3 separate regions of the Homo sapiens genome follow, and regions 2 and 3 are each linked to region 1. Evidence: promoter capture Hi-C in 16 types of primary human blood cells and fetal thymus (Javierre and others, 2016). All regions are on one chromosome and are shown on one strand. Each heading gives the region's core, a stretch centred on a gene start or on the middle of the fragment in contact. The rest is flanking DNA. Distances are from core to core; before and after follow the strand shown. Region 1 holds the start of OR10J1 (olfactory receptor family 10 subfamily J member 1). Region 2 has its middle 59 kb from the start of APCS. Region 3 has its middle 43 kb from the start of ACKR1.

Region 1 (2,951 bases), core at 225-2,724:
ACTTTCCCTCCCCACACAGTAACTTATTACTTGACATGTCATAAACATACTCCAATAGGGAATCCAGTTTCAGAAGCCCTGGTGCTCTAGTATAGGAAGAAAGGGATTATAGGAAAAAGATTTTAAGTGTGTCTTGGATTCTATTTTCTCAAGGGGCTTTCTATTGCCTTCATTAGGTGGAGATTCACAAAGAAACCAAAAGGTCAGTAAAAAATTCTCAGCCCATACTACTTTCTGGCCTTTTATTTAGGCATATCTTATCCTTGTTTGTCTATTTATCCCCAAAAATAGGGATAACACTCCATCCAGTAACTTTATTTAAAGCTTCAGACTCCCAGTTGTATGAAACTGCTATTCCTCTTTTGCCTCTTATTTAAGGGGCAGGTCTCTAGGAGCCAAGTGTTTGTGAGTTTACACCTCATATTCCTGCCTAGTGTGGATGTTGACAGCCTCAGGAGAACTCTTCCTACATGGTCAGGAAAACTTCCCACCAACAGCCCTGCACAGAGCATCTTTGACCTCTTTATTTCTCAGGGTGTATACCACAGGGTTCAGTAGGGGAGTGATGACAGTGTAGGTCACCGAGATCAGCTGGTCATGTTCTCTGGTGTTCTCTGACTTGGGCTTGAGGTAGGCAATGGAGGCACAGCTGTAGTGGACAATGACCACAGTGAGGTGGGATGCACAGGTGGCAAAAGCCTTCTTCCGGCCCTCAACTGAAGCAATCTTGAGGATTGTAGAGATAATGAGAACATAAGAAATGAAAACCAGACCCATAGGTACAACAAGCACCAGCACACTGATAATCAAAGTCAGGATTTCATTGACAGTGGTGTCAATGCAGGAGAGCTTCATCACAGGGCGGATGTCACAGAAGAAGTGGGGCACCTTTCTAGCACAGAAGGGTAACCTGAATACAGATGTCACTTGCGTTATTGCTACAATCAGCCCAATGCTGCAGGCCCCCAGGACAAGTTGGATACGCAGCCTCTTGTTCATAATAACCATGTATCTCAGGGGGTTGCAGATGGCCACATAGCGGTCATATCCCATTGCTGTGAGCAGGAAGCAGTTAGTGATGCCAAAGGTTACAAAAAAGAACATCTGTGTGGCACACCCTGCCAATGATATGGGCTGGCTCATACCTACGAGGCTGGAGAGCATTCTTGGGAGAATGACCAATGTATATACAGTCTCTGAAGTGGACAGCATGCTCAGGAAGAAGTACATGGGTGTGTGAAGATGAAGATCCATTCGGATGATGGTCACAATGATGATATTGCCTGCTAAGGTTAAGATGTATAGTGCAAGGAACACGCCAAAAAGGGTGATCTGCTGCTCATGGAAGCTAGAGAAACCTTGGAAAACAAAGTCAGTGATGAGAGTAAAGTTCTCTCTTTTCATGGATTGGTTCCCAAATCTGAAACATAAAAGCATAAAAGTCACATAGTCCCAGTAAAGCAGTAGAAGCACATTTCTGAAATTGATTGAAGTTCAATAGTTCTCAGTTACAAATCTGGTGATGTATTTCCTAGTGGATTAAGTTAATCCCTGGGTTTACTTATCTTTACTTAAAATATTTTTACTCTGTGACCATCTGTTATAATTTTCCATGCATCATAGAATCATATAGTCTCACTTTTTCACTGTATAACCATACATGCTCCTACTTCATATCTACTCTTCCTCCCTGACATCTGGAATGGCTTCTCTTTTCTCCTCTTATTTCTTTCCTACTCTTCAGAGATGAGTGCACATTTTCAGGCCTTCATAAAACCGTATTACACTCAGAGGTTCTCATGTTTATTTGGATTATTTTTACCCCATTATTGCTGCCTCACCTCATACAAACACTTAGCAACTTTATAATACCTTTTACATCTTTTCATATTTCACTAGCTCCAAATTATGCATGGATTGGGTGCTTGAAAATAATTTGTTTAGGGATGGACTAGTGATGTCTTTTCTTTCAAGACTATGAATCATCCTCCTTGCGCATCCTTTAAGAATTAGAAGCAAAGTAGAAAGGTTCATCTTGTCTTCAAGAAGAAAAAGGAAAATCTTAGCCAACCACCAGCCTCTCCCCACTTCTGTCTGAGTGATGGAAGTCTGCTGACAGTTCAGAGCACTGATTCACGTATGTTATAAACTATGCTACATCTTTACCTTCCCTAAACTAGAAGGCAAATTTATAGCCAATACAACTTTGTGAGTAAGCCTACACCCACTCTGCAGAGATAAACAATTGTATCAGGAAAGATACAGCAAATTTAAGTGTCCCTCACCTAAAGCAAAAGCAAACCCTGAATATAAAAAAACAGCTACACCAAAGATACATCATTTTGTTGAAGGAAGGGGATCAGTTCAATTTATGTAATATTTCACATTTTTATCTCTTTAAACAGTAAGCTTCTCTAGGGTATTTAAATTATATTCTGATTTGCTTATGCATATTCAGAAAGAGAAGTTTTGCATAAAGTAAATCACATCAATGATGAAGGTTAGTACGCACGGAGACTTTCTTCAAGTTCATAAAAATCTATTTAAAAGAAGTTGATGACCAGCTGTTAATCATTTACACTAAGAATGCTAAAAAGAAAGTAAAGCTGCAATAGAGAATATTTTCCAATAAAGAAAATCATTTGATACTAAAATATATGTCTAAAGACATTTGTCTTCTGTGAGGCTTCTGAGCAAAAACTATGTAGTAGTCCAGCCACGGAGTGGTATGGTGCCTCTATGGTGAAATCAGAAATGCTTGGCAGAGCTTTTAACTGTTACAATAATGAGCACAGAAGCTCTTGGCCATTCACGATGTGAAATGTCCTGCAAAACTTGTGGTGATTCTGCCCAAGGAAGAATTCCCTTCTTCCAAATACCAATAAAGTTCCCATTGAGAAACACACGGCTAAAATATCATCTTATCTGGCTGAAACTTGTCTGTCTTGAGG
Region 2 (2,951 bases), core at 290-2,789, 210 kb before region 1:
AGGTGAGTTTTGGAATGCACTTTTTATATTTCATAAAAAATTATGTTGAAAATTTGATTAGAATTTTATTACCTTTGTACTGGTTATTATATTTGTATTATAATAAAATCTGTCAGTCTTACTAACTTAAGACCATCTAAAACACAAACGACCTTAACAACAAAGGAATTAAGTGAAAAGATATTGGAGTATTTCAGAGAACTTAAAGAACTGCTGTGAGGAAAGGTGGTGACATGATGATTCTTGCATCCTTAGTAACTGAGTCTGTGGATCTGCTCACTAGGTCTTTGCCATGAATATGACTCAGAGCCTTCAACTGCCAGTCTCTGTGCCAGTCTCTGTGCTCTCCAGTAAAAATTCCAGATTCATAGGAGAGAGAATTTGATTGTTTCATCATGGGTGCTATGTCTGCCCCTATATCATCAGGTGTGATCAGGCAACACAGTTGATAGGAGAGGTGTCACCACTGGGCCCCATTTTTGGCGACAACCCAAAGTTATACATATTTACTGCATCTCAGGGCAACGTCCTCTGCCACTGTTTCCCCGATTCTACCTCTTTGAATGATCATTTCTCTAGTTTTTTGTGATTCATCTAAAATATTCTGCCACCTATGGATAAAGTTATCCCCCCAAAAATCACATTGTATATGCAATGATCAGTGGAAAGAGGAGGAAAAAGAAGAAAAAATATAATCCCTCTTTAGATAGATAAAGAAAAGGGGATGATAATTATATCCAAATAGTAAGCAAGGAAAAATAAAAGGAAACCACAATCTTCATTTATTTTATTGGTCACAAGACTTTCTTGAATTTTGACTTTTTTCTAACTTCGGTAATTCTATGTTCTCTTTGTCTTATGACATCATTGGATTGTGATTTTTCTCTCTTGGTGGGTTGATCCTCAATCCTGAGGGTCTGAGCAACTAGTGTTACTACCTGTTAAGAATTTGGATTGTCTTCTCTTAATATTTAAATTTGTGCATAATAGAACAAAGAATTTTCCTGGCAGCTTGGTGTTGTGGCAGCATTAAGGCATATATGACTTGATCCTAATATGCTCTAATATGTTTTTGGTGGTAGGAGTTTAATATATCCAAGCTTGGCTCACCAATTTAAACAGGAGTGTTTGCAAAAAGAAAGGGGAACATGGTCAGAGCCTCTTCTTTGATCTCCAAGACTCCCTAGATGTTTAGTTCCCTTTTCAGAATAGCAACCCTATTTCCTGTGGAGAGTTAGTCAATCACACAAGCCAAGATTCTGCAACTTCCTTCTAGTGGCCCTGTGGTTGTCTCTGTACCAAATATGGAAAATCTTTGTTGTGTTTTCCAGTGTAAGTTTTCTTCCCTTAGGTGTTACAATTTCTATAACACTTAATTATTTACCCTTATTTTTCCTTTATCCTTATTGCCTTATTTGCTTATTTGTGAACTAATGTTCCCCGAATTTTTTTCAAGCTGCCTCAAACCCTTTTTAGAATTAGTCAAGGTAAGCATAAACAGGTAAAAGTGTCACTCCCACCTCCATGCCTTGGTTGTTGGCTGTGAGACTGGTCAGAGTTTAATGGCATGCTGTAAGGCAGCAGCCTAGCCTGTGTCTCAGAGCTGGCATCATGAGATGCCACTTTTGTGGTAGAGTATACCAGCCTTCCCTATCTGGTGGCTCACAAATTCCCAGGGTTCATAGATGTATTCAAGGAAGTTTGTGTGGATAAAGATAGTAACGAAATTTGGCTAAGTATCTAATAAACTAACATTTTCTAGTTTGCCTTTTGGAAATGGGACAGTTTGTCATTCTTGAGCAGATATAGAATGAACATTATCTGTGGCTGATGGCAATCAGATGAATGTACTCAGAAACTCTTGTTTAATAGTTTTGACCATTAAACAGTTTTAAATTATTTTATTCATAGTTGCATGCTATTTAATTTATACTCATAATGAACTGTTGATAAATACAAGAAACATAATGAAGCTTGATGTTGAAGTATAAGTTAATGACAATAATTCAGCAAATTCATCTCAAGATGATCTTACCAAATCTTTAAGTGGCATTCAGCTAATCAAAACTCTTATGTGGCACATTAAGCGTTCTCTGTATTAAGATAGAAAATTTGTCGTGATTGTATCTAACAATGTGTTACAAAGACCTACATTTGGGTTCTAAATCAAGCATAATATCAATTTTAAGAATTTATTTATAATATAGTCAGATACACACATGTAACTTAAAGCAAATTAAGTAGCATGTCACTTGTTAAATGTAAAAATGTCTTTTTATATTATAAATTATTAAAGATAGTGTGAAAATGAATCTTTGCATATTTAATAATATAGTGATCAAATTTTAAAACTTATTTATCGTATTTTATATACAAATTAAAAAACTTTAAAAATTTCTACAGCAGCCACAAATACACACAGGCACATACACACACACACACACACACACACACACACACACACACATCTCATTGCAAAAGCCTTTTATAAGTCCATAATAATTAGAAAATAATTTGGCCATTTCCCTCCATGGGCATCAGATTATTCCTCTCTTTCATTGTGAAATGTGTTCCTCTGTCAGAGGCACTATTATGTAGGATGCCACAATGATGCATAAGAAATTTAGTATAACCACCAAAGGTGGTGCTGACAGATATTTGATGAGCAGGGAAACAAATCTAAACCCGTAATATGTCTATTCTTGAGGACGAACTGCTACCCTATTCATGATAGAGAATAATGCCATTTTCTCTTTCTCCATGTCAGGAGTTTAGCATTAAGTAACCAAGTCAGATTTGGTGAGTGGAAGTCCATGCTAGTAAGTCCATGTATATCCTCCATCACGGCCTTTAATTTATTAGTTCATTTAGCAGTGAATGTGCTGGCCAGAAAAAGAGTTGGGATCAACAACAAAATAGTTCTCCTGATGCTCTGATTATTAAGCATCTCA
Region 3 (2,951 bases), core at 312-2,811, 190 kb after region 1:
TTATGTTAATCTGGCTAAGATTTGGGCTATATTTAATGTTTGCTATATCGATAGAGGCCAGAGACTAAATTCCTCTAGTATCCTTGTTTATTCTACTCTGTTAACTTTGAGATTCCCTAAGTACTCCTCTTCAGAGAGAGTTTAAATCTTGCAGCTCTTTTAACTGTGACCCACCCTTATACCAGAGTCCTTTTGATCTGACAGTAAGGTGTGGGAGTGAGGAGCATTCTGTAATCTTATTATTAAGTCTCACTCTTTTAGTGGGCCTGTGTTCCTGGAATGTGACCTTCACAAGGGTGTCTTGTCCTCTCTCCTCACTCAGGTGAAATAGGAATGCTAGAGAGGGCTAGAGTGAGAGAAATTATTTTCCCCTAGGTGGGATAAGGCTCTGATAAATCTTTACCCCTGGAGAGTAAGTCTTTGCTATGAAGAACAGTCAGGTTGTATTCTACAAGTTATTCTTTCCCTCCTTCTACCTGAGCCATGAATTTTTTCTGACCGCTCTTCACCATAAGAACACTGTGTGGTGTCTGGAGATAAAACTCACAAAAGTATGTGGGTGCCCCTAAGATTGCAGCACCTAGGAGTTTCTCATTCTCAGGATAATTCTCACATTAGCCTTCTGAAATTTGTCAAAATTGTTGTTTAAGTGTTCCAGTTTATGGCTCCAGGGCTTCCCCAGCAGTAAGCTGTCTTCATGTGGTTCTCTGGATTCACCTGTTTTTCCAGATTTAGGGGTGGCAATTTGCCCTGCAATCTCAGTTTTCTGAGGTATTCATGAAAAGCTGCTAATTTTGTTTATTTATCTTCTTTGTTGTTGCTGTTGTTGATAGAATGGAACTGATGACTTCTAAGCTTTTGCATGTTGGAACTGAAAGCCAGCTAATCTACTTTTGAAGACCAGATTTTTTACTACCTTTTTAAAGGGTGCTGTATTAGGCTTTTCTTGCATTGCTATAAAGAAATACCTGAGACTGGGTAATTTATAAAGAAAAGAGGTTTAATTGGTTCTATAGGCTTTACAGGAAGCATGGTGCTAGCATCTGCTCAGCTTCTGGGGAGGCCTCAGGAAGCACAATTATGGCAGAAGGTAAAGTGGGAACAGGCACTCCACATGGCACAAGCAGGAGGAAAAGAGAGAGAGTCAGCTGGGGGAGGAGATGTCACACACTTTTAAATGATCAGATCTCATGGGAACTCAGAGCAAGAGCTCGCTTATCACCAAGGGGATAGCCTAAGCCATTCATGAGGGATCCACCCCCACAATCCAAACACCTCCCTCCAGGCCCTACCTCCAACACTGGGGATCATGATTCAACATGAGATTTGGCAGGTACATACATTCAGACTTTGTGAGGCACTCTGCAATTTGGCACAGGCTAGCTTTTTCTTAGAATAAAATCCAAGGAAAAATATCAAATCAATACAAATAATACAATAATTTCAGAGTTTCTGTTAACATCACTTCTTCTTTGAAGCTTTATTTGAAGTCTTCAGCTCACACTGAGCTCACTTCAGTCTGGGTCTAAATTCTATTTTTTGTTGTTTTTTTTTTCACTCAACTTTCACTTAACCAAATACTATCTAGTAATAGTTGACTAATGTTTTTGGATAGATGGGCTGTCTCTTTAAATATAAGCTTTTCATGGGAGGCAAAATATTTTATACAACCATCGTATCCCTAGTTGTGCTATCATATCTGTATACTAGACAAATGGGGAATATTAAATTAAATACTTAGGGTGGTCCAAGTTTTGCAATTTTTTTTTTTTTTGGACGATAGTGAGGCTTCATCAGGTTTTCAGGACAGAGGTATGTCTGGATCACCTCAATTTATAGATTATTATTTTAAGAATAGGTGAGAAGGAAGAAGAGGATAAAGCAGCCAAACATTTGGACCCCACGAGTGGCTGACACATTATTCATTACTACTTCAAAATACAACAACAAACGTACTCATTTCAAAGTAGGTGCGATAAACTAATAGCAGTTCTATAAGTCTTCCATGTGGGCAACTCAACTCTTCCCTCTTTGCTTCTCCCCTCACTACATACTTTCTGCTTAATTTTTTCCCTTTGTCTCACTCTGTATATATTTTATTCATTGATTAATTAATAAAGATTTAGCTGGTGACATCAGCAAGATAGCAGAATAAGAGGTCACAGGCTTCACTACCCCCCATAGAAAGTTCAACTAACAATTATCCACAGACAAGGATGCCTTTGTGAAAACTCCAGTACTTGAGAATAAGCTTGAGAAAACAGTGTGGACAACAGAACTAAATAAAGACCACAAAAGGGGTTAAGTAAAATGGCCTCACTGATTGCATCACCCCATCACCCCTGCCCATTCCATGAGTCAGCAAAGTACCACACAGAGAGGATTCCCCAAGGCTCAGTTTCAACAGTGGGAAAAGAGAACTGGAGTTGGACATCCAGCTTCCCTAGAATTCTGAGACGCTTCCCAGGAAGCCCGCTGTGGTCTCACCTCACAAGGAGTACAGCGGGTAACAGCATGAACACTGAACAAACCTTGCTGATAGCTCTGTGTACCTTCCAGTGGTGGTACCTGATCAGAGATACAAGCCAACAGCATCACCTACCCACAAAGCTGAGCTGGTCACTCCCAGAAGTGATGGAAAGTCCTACCTAGCTTGAATCCCTAGATGGCGAGCCTCCAGGCTTAGTCTCAGACCCTACCACAAGGCCCTCAACCCAGGGAGAGAGATGCTTGTCCCAGCACAATTTGGAAAAGAGTGGGATCCAGTTTATACAGCATTTAGCACAGCCTCAAAGCTTGCCCAAGACCCTGTCCAGGGATGGAGACAACCAAACAGAACACTTCAGCAAAGTGCAGTGGCTAGTTCTGCCACACTCAAGCATGCTCCATTTGAGCAGCTACTCTGCCTAACCTCAGAGCCAAGCCTGAAACCCCATCCAGCTGCAGATCTC

Evidence for each region. The method cuts DNA at HindIII sites, captures the fragments that hold promoters and counts their contacts. A CHiCAGO score of 5 or more calls a contact.
Region 2: a fragment that was not itself captured here is called in contact with the fragment with the promoter of OR10J1 in region 1 in 5 of 17 cell types (M2 macrophages, endothelial precursors, naive B cells and 2 more); the score reaches 7.3 in M2 macrophages.
Region 3: a contact is called between a fragment that was not itself captured here and the fragment with the promoter of OR10J1 in region 1, in 1 of 17 cell types (megakaryocytes). The highest score is 5.1, in megakaryocytes.

Annotation. Positions count from the first base shown.
Region 1 is chr1:159,438,245-159,441,195 of GRCh38, reverse strand. It overlaps OR10J1 (olfactory receptor family 10 subfamily J member 1), which reads right to left and starts at 1,474. Exons shown (of 1, transcript NM_012351.3): 1 at 229-1,474. The coding sequence starts at 1,404. The coding sequence ends at 475. The HindIII fragment of the contact is 2,085 bases long and covers 327-2,411 here.
Region 2 is chr1:159,645,171-159,648,121 of GRCh38, reverse strand. No RefSeq gene overlaps it. Among named protein-coding and RNA genes, the nearest start is that of APCS, 59 kb to the right of the region's middle. The HindIII fragment of the contact is 873 bases long and covers 1,103-1,975 here.
Region 3 is chr1:159,246,860-159,249,810 of GRCh38, reverse strand. No RefSeq gene overlaps it. Among named protein-coding and RNA genes, the nearest start is that of ACKR1, 43 kb to the right of the region's middle. The HindIII fragment of the contact is 161 bases long and covers 1,481-1,641 here.